Regions from separate parts of the Homo sapiens genome. Here region 2 is linked to region 1. The links are contacts of gene promoters, found by promoter capture Hi-C in blood cells and fetal thymus (Javierre and others, 2016). All regions are on one chromosome and are shown on one strand. Each heading gives the region's core, a stretch centred on a gene start or on the middle of the fragment in contact. The rest is flanking DNA. Distances are from core to core; before and after follow the strand shown.

What was found. Contacts are between HindIII fragments. The CHiCAGO score rates a contact against its expected background, and 5 or more counts as called.
Region 2: a contact is called between the fragment with the promoter of ZNF821 here and the fragment with the promoter of GLG1 in region 1, in 1 of 17 cell types (M0 macrophages). The highest score is 5.0, in M0 macrophages.

The regions. Positions count from the first base shown.
Region 1 is chr16:74,603,310-74,608,869 of GRCh38, forward strand. It overlaps GLG1 (golgi glycoprotein 1), which reads right to left and starts at 3,805. Exons shown (of 26, transcript NM_001145667.2): 1 at 3,348-3,805. The coding sequence starts at 3,785. RefSeq lists silencers at 3,376-3,555, 3,786-3,975. The HindIII fragment of the contact is 13,128 bases long and covers 2,771-5,560 here.
Region 2 is chr16:71,881,999-71,887,333 of GRCh38, forward strand. It overlaps ZNF821 (zinc finger protein 821), which reads right to left and starts at 2,184. Exons shown (of 8, transcript NM_001201552.2): 1 at 1,910-2,184; 2 at 1,213-1,275. RefSeq lists enhancers at 1,010-1,209, 3,050-3,550 and silencers at 1,570-1,689, 1,710-2,469. The HindIII fragment of the contact is 5,845 bases long and covers 1,513-5,335 here.

The DNA of each region.
Region 1 (5,560 bases), core at 2,555-5,054:
TGAGGCAGAAGAACTGCTTGAACCAGGGAGTCAGAGGTTGCAGTGAGCCGAGATCACACCACTGCACTCCAGCCTGGCAACAGAATAAGACTCCGTCTCAAAAAAAAAAAAAAAAGAAAATCTAATCTATGAACATCACAAACTTTTTATTAGAGACGGTGTCTCACTATGTTGCCAGGCTGGTACTGAACTCCTAGCTCAAGCAATCCTCCTGCCTCAGCCTCCCAAAGGGCTAGGATTTCAAGTGTGAGCCACTGCGCCCGGCTGAACACCACAAACTTCTAAGGAACCAAGGTCTCCATCTGAAACTTCGAAATACAAGACACTAGTGGAAAAAAAAAAAGTGCTACTGGCCATTTCAACCAAGAATAAGTAAAGTATTTTAAAATGACTGACAACATCAAGCATGCCTTCCTTATCACATACTAAGCAACAGTATCTTCTCTTTCTTTGGTATTATTACTCCACCTACTAGAACAGCCCAGGGAATATTTTTTCTTTTCTGCCTTACACTTTCTAATTTTTTGTTTTTATTTAAATAACTTGAACTACTAATAATTATACACACACAACTAGGACTACTAACACACCATTACTGGCTATTACATCTATTATTTCATAGTGGACCCATGATATACTTGGCCTTTTTAAAAGCATGACTCATCCGAGAGCGTTAAAAAAAAAAAAAAAGAATCCCAAGGCCAGGCACAGTGGCTCACAACTCTAATCCCAGCACTTTGGAAAGCCCAGCTGGGAAGATCACTTGAACCCGGAATGTGGAGGCTTCAGTGAACTCTCAAACCCAGAAGACTGAGGCTGCAGTGAGCTATGACTGCACCACTGCACTCCAGCCTGGATGACAGAGCGAGACCCTGTCTCCATAATAAAAAATTTTTTTTCAGAAAGAAAAGTTCCATAAGGTTCCAAAAAGCAAAAGTTAAGTTTGACATATGCCAAGTACTACAGTGAATCCACATGAATGAACTGATATGTAGGCACTGTACTAGGTATCACAAGTATTTTAGAGAAGACAAGAATTCGGAAGGGTGTGCACAGATGATATGGAAATACGACACCATTTTATACGGTATAAGGTACTTGAGCGTCCTTGGATTTCAATATCTGCAGGAGGCCTGGAACCATCCTCCAGTGATACCAAGGAACAACTGTACTCATATGCTCTGCCTTTTCATAATTCCAATAATGGGTACGGATAGGAAAATGTTCCCTGCATTTGCATGCAAAGGGACAGAAAAGTACATATATCTATTTCACTATCAAATAGTTCTACTTACTGAACAGCAAATACAAAACATATTCTATACATGTTTCTTCAAATGTGCCTAACTAGTTTACTTCTTTAAGTTATGCTCTTTCAAACACATAGATCAGATTTAATTAACTCCCAGACTAAGCAGAATGAAATTTCCTTTCGCTGTCTTTAAAGAAAAAGAAAATAGGGTGGGGGTGGTGGCTCACACCACTAATCTCAGCACTTTGGGAGCCCGAGGCTGGCAGATCACAAGGTCAGGAGATCGAGACCATCCTGGCCAACATGGTGAAACCCTGTCTCTACTAAAAATACAAAAATTAGCTGGGCGTGGTGGCGCTCGCCTGTAGTCCCAGGTACTCAGGTGGCTGAGGCAGAATTGCTTAAAGCCGGGAGGTGGAGGTTGCAGTGAGCCAAGTTCAAGCCACTGCACTCCAGCCTGGCGACAGAGTGAGACTCCATCTCAAAAAAAAGAAAAGAAGTTTAAAAATAACTCCACCTCCTGAAGAATACACATAGGTGTTCACAGTACTCTTCCTTCATTATTTCTGTATGTAAAAACTGGAGGAAAAAACATTAAATTGGAAATTTGGTCCCTCCACCTCCCCCCAACCCCCCAAAACCCCCATTTCCAATTTATATGACGCCTTTCCTCCTCTGGAGCATAAAACTGCCTCCTTTAAGTGGAGGTTTCCAAATGTCCGGAATACACATGAAGGATATATACACTCCTTGAATAGGCCACTTTTTGCCACTTTCCCTAATAATGTGCTGTTTCTACCACAAACTACTACTAATTGTTTGGTCACCAGTATTAGGATCCTAGTTTGATGAAACGACATCTATTATGTGTCCTCAAAGAGCGAAAAGAAAATTCCAAAAAGTTCGACAGAGTTAGGAATATTAGCTGTATCTACCAGAGGACTATCCCTCTAGTCGTTAAGCTGAAGATGAGAAGTCAGGTAAGGCCTCACATTTCTAGGGGCTCTGGAAACTTCCTTTCTTTCTGTCTCCTGCTTATGTATGTCTTTTCCTCTATCTGAATTGCTTTTGTATAGAATACTAGAACACGAGATGAAGGGGGGAAATGCCAAGAGAAGCAAATTTCTACAAGCAAGTGGTCTTGCTATAGCTTGAACGCCTTAAACAAATCTGATATTTAAAAAAAAAACCAAAAACAGTATCAAGTGGTAGCTTCATTCTATTTGTCCACCTTTAGGGCTAATTTTATATACCTACACCTCTGGAAAAAGTTACTACTGTCAGATTTGCTCCCAAACTTTGAGAATTGTCATTATGGTCTGCAGCATTAAACCTAGATTATAAATTATCAATGTCACTTGATTATAAATTATCAATGTCACTCAACTGAATCACACCAAGCAACGACAAATGTAGATTTCATTAAGAGATACTGTTAAAATCACATTCAGACCTCAGAAAGGCAAGATCCCATAACCCAGTCACAAACACAGCTTCAAACGCTTCCCCAACTTTTCAAGCTTTGGGGCGCCAAGTCACTGGGAGTTAACAGCTTAAACATGGGGTTCAATACAACTGACCAAAGGAAGTGAAGAAAACAAAGCATACATTAATTTCAGCACCAAAAATATGGATTTGCGAATTACATCTACTGCTAATAAACAGATCATTCTTTACAGCCTAAGTACGCCAGGCATTTTTTTATGTTTAAATGGCTTGCCACAAATTGTCCTAGTCGAAACTGATGGCAAAATCCTAAACTGATCTTCGGCGAGGAGACACTCTGCATAGAGCATCACACAAAAGACAGGAGCGAACAGACACGCTCTGGGCCTCGGCGGATTGCGGCCAGGAGCCCAGGTTTTCGTCCCAGACCCCGGCAACAGGGAGGGAAATAAGGGCGGGGGAAAGAAGGAGTGGGAGTGGTATCCTTTTCCCTGAAAGCGCCTGGGAGTGAGGAGCAAAGAGGGAAGGAGCGAGTGCAGCACAGAGGAAGCAAGGAAAGCAGCCGACCGGCGTCAGCGGCTTCCAAGGCCGGCAACACCCTCGGGCCCGCACCAGGCCTGGCCCTCCCGGCTTCGTCCCACCTCCTCACCTCCCTCACATCCTGCAGGCACTCGAGCACCGCCAGGTTGTTGCTCCAGGTGTGCTTAGGGCACACGCGGGTCACGTCCTCCCTGCAGGACTCTTCCTCCGCCAGCTTCCAGCCCCCACCAGCCCCCGCTCCTCCCCGCCGGGCCGGAGGCCCACCCGCCGGGAAAGGCGGCTGCGGCGGCTGAGGCTGCTGTTGCTGTTGCTGCTGCTGCTGTTGCTGCTGAAGCTGCGATGACTGAGGCAGCTGGGGCAGCTGCTGACCCGCCGGGCCGCCGCCTCCGGCCTGCCCTACGAAGGACACAAAGTTGGCCCCGGGACCCTGGCCCTGGCTGTGGACGCCCTGGCCGGGGAGTTTCTCGGCCCCGGCCGCGAATAGCAGCAGCAGATGCAGCGCCGCCGACAAGCGGAACATCCTCCGTACACGTCCACACGCCGCCATCTTGAGTCCGCGGCGAGCTCGACGCACTCGCCGGCGCCGCGTATTTAAATGAGGGGGTGGAGACGCTGGGCGTGGCAGCGTGGCCCTGCCGAGCCCCGCCCCGCCGGCGCCGACCCGCGAACCCAGAGTGGGGCGAAGGAGGAGGCCGTGCTGGAAACCGCACACACCCTGGACCGGCGGGCGGGAGAGCGGCGCTCCTTACCCGGGGGGGTTGCTGGGGTTTCTTAAAAAGCCCGGGCAGGGCGGCCTACTCTAATTCCATTTGCTGTCACAAAAAAAAAAATCAAGGGAATTGGGGTTGCCACAACCAAAATGGCCGGTAGAATATGTCGCCGGTTCAATGACTTGGAAAACAAAAACTTTATATGTAGAGGTGAACTTTGCACAACCAGGTGTATTACGGAATCGGAAAGCCTCTCCTTGTATCGCTCCCTCCTTCCTTCCTTCCTTCCATCTGCCTCAGAAGTCTTTCTTAGCCAAAGAGAGAGACAGCATTGAATAGGGTTAAGAGCATAAGTTCTGGGGTAAGAAAAAAAATTAAGGTTATAATCCTTGCTCTGGCAGGGTACGCAAGAGCTCAAATGTAAAGTACCATTGGCAAGATTCGAAATAATAATTTAAGTGCCTGGCCCACAACACTGAACTCAAAAAGTCACAGCCAGTATTGTTAATAAACTGGGAAGCCGTTTATGCATGAATCCTGATTTTAAGCCAGCATTTAGATTCATGTTTAAAGGATGAAAAAATAATAATAAAACACATCTTTGAGGACTCGGGTTAAGTCTGTGTGTCGGTAACTGTTCTCATTGACCTGCATGCAACACCGCAGGCACCCCACACTAGCATCCCCTCCCTGTCCTTAGGAGAGAGGATATGTTCCCAAAGCCTCTTCACATCCGCTGTGTAATCTGAGCCATGCATCAGGCCTGCGTTAGGTTCTCATTTAACTGAAGAATGGCACAGAGATGTTAACAGTTCTGCGTGGAGGGATTAAATGAGCTGCCCAAGAGGAACTCTGCCATCCTGTAGACAGCTAGGCTAGCCACCAGAATCCCTGGGGCTTCCCACCACCCTGGCGCACTTTCATCCCACTCTGTCCATGCACATGTTGGGGAATGAGGGCAGTTTGGGTTGTGTAATCTCCACTGGTCATTGTGTCCAAAAATGCGAATTACATCTACTGTAGTAAACAGACAGCTTCTGCTGTCCTGACCCGCAAATGAGCAGTCAAGACCAAGTTAGACATAACTAGAACCTGAAAAGTCAGGAGCTCAGGGAACCCAAAAGGAGCTCCTGAGACTGAAGATATTCTGTGAGTACAAATTACCCACTGTGGCTGACCCCAGGCCTCTATCATGGGGAATGAGAGCTTGTTGGCATCTCCACCAACGGTCACCTTTGCTACTGTCATAAAATGATCATGAGGCTGCTGCTAACCTTGAGCACTGACTAAGGCAGCCCCATGTTTATTAGCAAACACATGGCATAGGTAAGTTTCAGTCAGGCAGGCTGGACACATCACCAGAAGTCCTTGAGATGTCACTAGCGTATGTTAATTTTTTTTTTTTTTTTTTGAGACGGAATCTCACTCTGTTGCCCAGGCTGGAGTGCAGTGGCGTGATCTCTGCTCGGAGCTGCCACCTCCACCTCCTGGGTTCAAGCAGTTCTCCTGCCTCAGCCTCCGAGTGGCTGGGATTACAGGCATGTGCCACCACACCCAGCTAATTTTTGTATTTTTAGTAGCGACGGGGTTTTGCCATGTTGGCCAGGCTGGT
Region 2 (5,335 bases), core at 934-3,433, 2.7 Mb before region 1:
GTGGCTCTCGCCTGTAATCCCAGCACTTTGGGAGGCTGAGGCGGGTGGATCACCTGAGGTCGGGAGTTTGAGAACAGCCTGGCCAACATGGTGAAACCCCGTCTGTACTAAAAATACAAAAACTAGCTGGGCGTGGTGATGCATGTCTGTAATCTCAGCTACTCAGGAGGTTGAGGCAGGGAATTGCTTGAACCCGGGAGGCGGAGGTTGCAGTGAGCCAAGAACGCACCACTGCACTCCAGCCTGGGCGACAGAACGAGACTCCGTCTCAAAAAAAAAAAAAAAAGATAAATAAAAATTTAAAAAAATAAAATATACTCCTCTAATGTGATAATCTATTGAGGCTAAATATATATATACTCTATTATAGAAGAAAAAACAGAATCTTGACTAATTTTTATATTTTCTCCCTTCAAGATCAGAAACTGAAACTGTAAGATAAAGGTAATAAAGTCCCTTCTGAAGGAAGGCCAAATAATTTGAACCAGACAACATTTCAATATTAAAGCTCCAAGTCAAAAGACAGAGATGAGTGTCTGCGTATTTAAATCAGCAATGCCCGCTGCATCTTATAATCCTCCTAGTGGCCAAATGGGGAACTGACCAGATGGTACCCAATGGGACTTCACACCTGAGTGATCAAGAGAAAAATAAGCAATTACAGTCCCCTCCCACACAACGAAACGAAAATAATAACAAAAACACCCACAAAAACAGGCCTGTGGGGTCATGGGCTGTTGAAAATCAATAAGTAAATAAATAAATGGCGCTGAAAGGACACTCTTGACCACAAAGCAAGATCTCAGAGGCCAGATGACTTGTTTTATAGGCAGTTAAAGCTAATAAAACCCAGAGACATACAGCCCTAAAGGTCACTCATTTTGTTTTACTTTTAACACTGCCTCAATTTCCAAGCCAAAACCTGAAACCAAACCAAACCAAAAATGTAAATAGATAGCTGCCTGAACATGGGCTGGGAAGACAGGTAAACGGTGAGATTCAGGTCTAAAGGGATTCCATTTTAAAAGGAAAGCAGTTCTGTCTGTCTTCAGAGCAAGGTTAAGAGTCCTCGGGAAGGTGCAACGTCTCCCCTGAACACTGTCTCTGCTCTCCCACAGGTATTAGGTTGCAGCGTCTAGGGCACACCACAGACTTTGGCAAGAAAAAAAACGAGTGAAATCTCAGCTTGATGAAAAGAGAGTGCGTTCCCACCTCCAGCTCTGGTGCAGTTCCCACGGAGCAAAGCAAACTCGACTGAATCCAAGTGATCTGTATCTGCCAAAAAGGAGAGGACAAGAAAGCTGGTCACTTAGCCGCCTGGCTGTTCACCTGACCCCTGGGGTTGGGTCTGGGGCGTGTCTAATCAGCCGAGATGGTCCCTCTGCTTCTTCAAGCATGAGCCCAGGTAAATTCCCAGGAATTACCAGACAAGAGCCTGACAAGAGCCGGAGGTCTTCCGAGGCGGCTCAGACAAACCCTTAGACAACACAATCTCCGAAATCTAAATTTAGAAGCTTTTCTGCGAGACCCAGACGCGGGGACTGATACCCCCCGGTCTGCACGCCCACGCCCATCCTCCCCTCCCCCAGCTCCACCCAAGGCTGTCAGACGCCGGGGCCGTCCCCGCCGGGGCCCGAGGAGGCGGGGTGCCCGCGGCCCGCGCAAAAGCCCCCCGGCCCCGCACCCCGCGCCCCGCGCCCGAGAGCGCCAAGGGGCAGCAGGAGGAGCGGCCGGGGAGGAATTGGGGTTGGAAGCGGGGAGGGTGAGCCCGGGCTGCCCCCCTAGGCCGGAGCTGGCCCCCGGCCCTCTCCCCAGTGCAGACAAAAGGACCAACAGCCGGCGGCCGCGAGGGGGCGAGGAGCCCGCATCCCCAGCCCGGACCCGGAGGGAGGGCAGGGGGTCTTTTTACCCGGCGCCTCGGCGCTGCGCTGCGCTCTGGGTCCCTGGGCCCCGCCTCCGGACAGACGGACCGCCGGACAATGGACCCGGGACCGCAGCCCAAGCCAGCCGGGCCGGGGCGCTCCGGGACTGGGCCCCGGCGAGCGGAAGGGGCTCCGGGCCGAGCCGAGCCGGTGGCGGGGAGCCGAGGGGCGGCGCTGCAGACGGACAAAGCCAACAGCAGACAGACAGACGGAGGGGGAAAAAGATGGCGACGCGGGCGGCGGGAGCGCGCGGCTCGCGCACCCGCAGCTAGTGAGGCGCGTGCACGAGCCTCCCTCTCCCCCTCCCCCGCGCCGGCCAGGTCCCCTTCCCCGCGGCCCGGCGCGCGCCTGGCGTTGTGGGCGGGGCCTGAGGAGAGGGGCTCTGGAGAGGAGGGGCTCCGGGGAGCGCCCAATCCCGGGCGCCCGAGAGGGGCTCGCCCGCGTTCCAGGGCTCCGGAACCCCCCGCCTCGCCCATTCCCGGGTCTTTCTCTGGCTGTCTCAGCCGCTCAGCTCCCCCAGACCTTCCTGGACGTGTAAACGCCACCCTACCCAGCCCCGATCCTGGTTTCTTACCCCACCATCGAGTTCAGCCACAAAACCCACAACCCCCAACCACAGCTCCGCCGCAGGCACCCCCTCTCCTTAGCCCGGATCCCCACCACCGTCACAAACCCTCTTCGCCTCATTCCCCCACGCTTCGCGGTGGCTTCGGCTCCCGAGGCTTTGAATGTGACCACGGGCCTTGGTGGGAGGGGCCAAGTTCAGCTGTCAGAACCTCAGAGCTGGGAAATCTTGAGATTTCTTTTGAGTATTTAATTTTCTGACATGATTCTCAACTGATAAAATAACATTGGCTGCAGACCCAGGGGCAGGGGAACTTGTGGCACTGTTGTCACTTGAGGGATGTTTGGGGGCAATGGAGAGCCGTTGGACCTTTTTTTTTTTTTTTTTTTTGAGACAGAGTCTCGCTCTGTCACCCAGGCTGCAATGCAATGGCGCGATCTTCGCTCACTGCAACCTGCGCCTCCCAGGTTCAAGCGATTCTCGTGCTTCAGCCTCCCGAGTAGCTGGGACTACAGGCGTGCACCACCACGCCCAGCTAATTTTTGTATTTTTAGTAGACGGGGTTTCACCATGTTGGCCAGGCTGGTCCCGAACTCCTGACCTCAGGTGATCCTCCCGCCTCGGCCTCTCAAAGTGCTGGGATTACAGGCGTAAGCCACTGTGCCCGGCCTGGTTGGACGCACTTCTAGTCAAACACCTCCTCCTGTCCACGTCCTTCTCTCTCCTAGTTCCTGTTGCCTTCTTTTCTTCCTCTCTTCTAGAATGCCTGAGCCTGCCCTGGCATCGCTTACCTGGAGAAGCAGGGAATGCAGAGGAAAGAAGATGAGATCTGGTATTAGAAGATCTGGCTTTGAGCCCCAGCTCTGCCACCCACCAGCCTGTTGACTTTGGGCAAGTCACTTCCCTGTTCTGAGCCTCTGCTTCCTAAGATGTCAAATGGATAATGATGCAATAATTCCTGGCCTTTACTCTCCGAGGGTTGTTGTGCCAGTTAAGTAAAACAAATGGCTAAAAGCATCATGCAAATGTTTTTCGTGATTACTGGCTGCACAAAGGCAGGGCTAACGAGGATGCTGTCATTTGCTGATAAAGTGACAAGTCCTGGTATTTGCATAGAACATTCTTGCAAATTGTCTTTCCCCTAAATCTTTTATGAGATGATCTCATTGTCTGCATCTTGTGTTCAATGTAATAGAATGATTACATTGAGGGATCTTGGTCCTTCACAATTCTGTGATAAATAGCTCATTCATCATTCACTCATTTATTTATTGTGATTAGGATACTTAGATAGCAATTATTGTTGTTTAACTTCAGTCAAGGAAACATTTTAATTTCATTTAAAAACTTAGTTTCCAAGTAGACAGAAAATGGAATATTATCATCCAACCCGCAAGTGTTTGTACTATTTTGTGTAAGAATACAACCTAGAATACACACTGGCTTTTATATTTAACAGTAATTCTTGATCAGTTTGGACTGAGGGATACAAGTATGGCTTTATTATGTCACTTTAAAGCTGACTTAGTTGACATTTTCAACAGAAAAGTAGCAAACAGGTAAAGTTTGCCTCCAGTGAAATTTCTTGGATGCATTATTATTATGTAATGTTGGGCAGCTTATTCCATCTCCTTGACTTCCAAATAAAATGAGATGATAATAATGCTATTCTTATGACTTCCCTGTGCTCTAAAAATTTCTCAGAGGTGTTGTGATTCAAGGTTACAACCAAATAATGAAAAAATTATTAAATACGTAATTAGTTTAAGTTAGGCATGGTGGCTGGCACCTATAGTCCCAGCTACTCAGGAGGCTGAGATGGTATGATGACTTGAGCCCAAGTGTTTGAGGCCAGCTTGGGCCACATAGTGAAACCCTTGTCTCTTTAAAAAAGAAGAATTAATTTATTTTTCCTCTGCTTTCACCTAAACTTGTTCTACATCTAGAAGACCTTTTAATTAACCATATATATTTTTTTAGCTTCACTTTTTTCTACTTTCCCAATCTACTCACAGTTATGTCATCATTTTGCCACTTCAACTATTTAACTTTCCACTTGAAATATCTTCCTAATCCATTTTATATTTGTTGGCTTCTACAATGACCTTGTTAGGGCTCTATATTCCAACAATAAAGGTAGGAGGATTTTAAGAACCTCATGTTACATTTTTTTAAATTAAGGTATAATTCACATACCATGAAACTCATGCTTTTAAAGTGTACAATTCAGTGGGTTTTGGTACATTCACAGGGTTGACAACATCACTAGTATCTAATTCCGGAATATTTTCATCACCCCAAAAAGAAATCCCATACCCAGTAGCAGTAACTCACCATTCTCCCTTCCTCCAGCTCCTGGCACCCACAAATCTACTTTCTGTCTGTGTGGATTTGCCTATTCTGGACATTTCATATAAATGTGATTGATTATACAGTATGGGACCTCTCGTGTCTGGCTTTTGTCACTTAATCTGGCTTTTGTCACTTAATAGGTTTTCAAGGTTCATTCATGTTGTAGCATATATCAGTACTTAATTCCTTTTTATGGCTGAATTATATTCTGTTGTATGGATATGCCACATTTTATTTATCCATTCATTAGTGGAACGATATTTGGCTTGGGCCTACTTTTTGGCTACTATGCATAATGCTACTATGAACATTTGTGTACAGTTTTTGTGTAAACATATGTCTTTACATTATGTATGGACATGGGTGCATACATATATCTAAGAGTGGAATTGCTTGGTCAAATGGTAACTCTATATTCAACCTTTTTTTTTTTTTTTTTTGAGACCGAGTCTTGCTCTGTCGCCCAGGCTGGAGTGCAGTGGCGCGATCTCGGCTC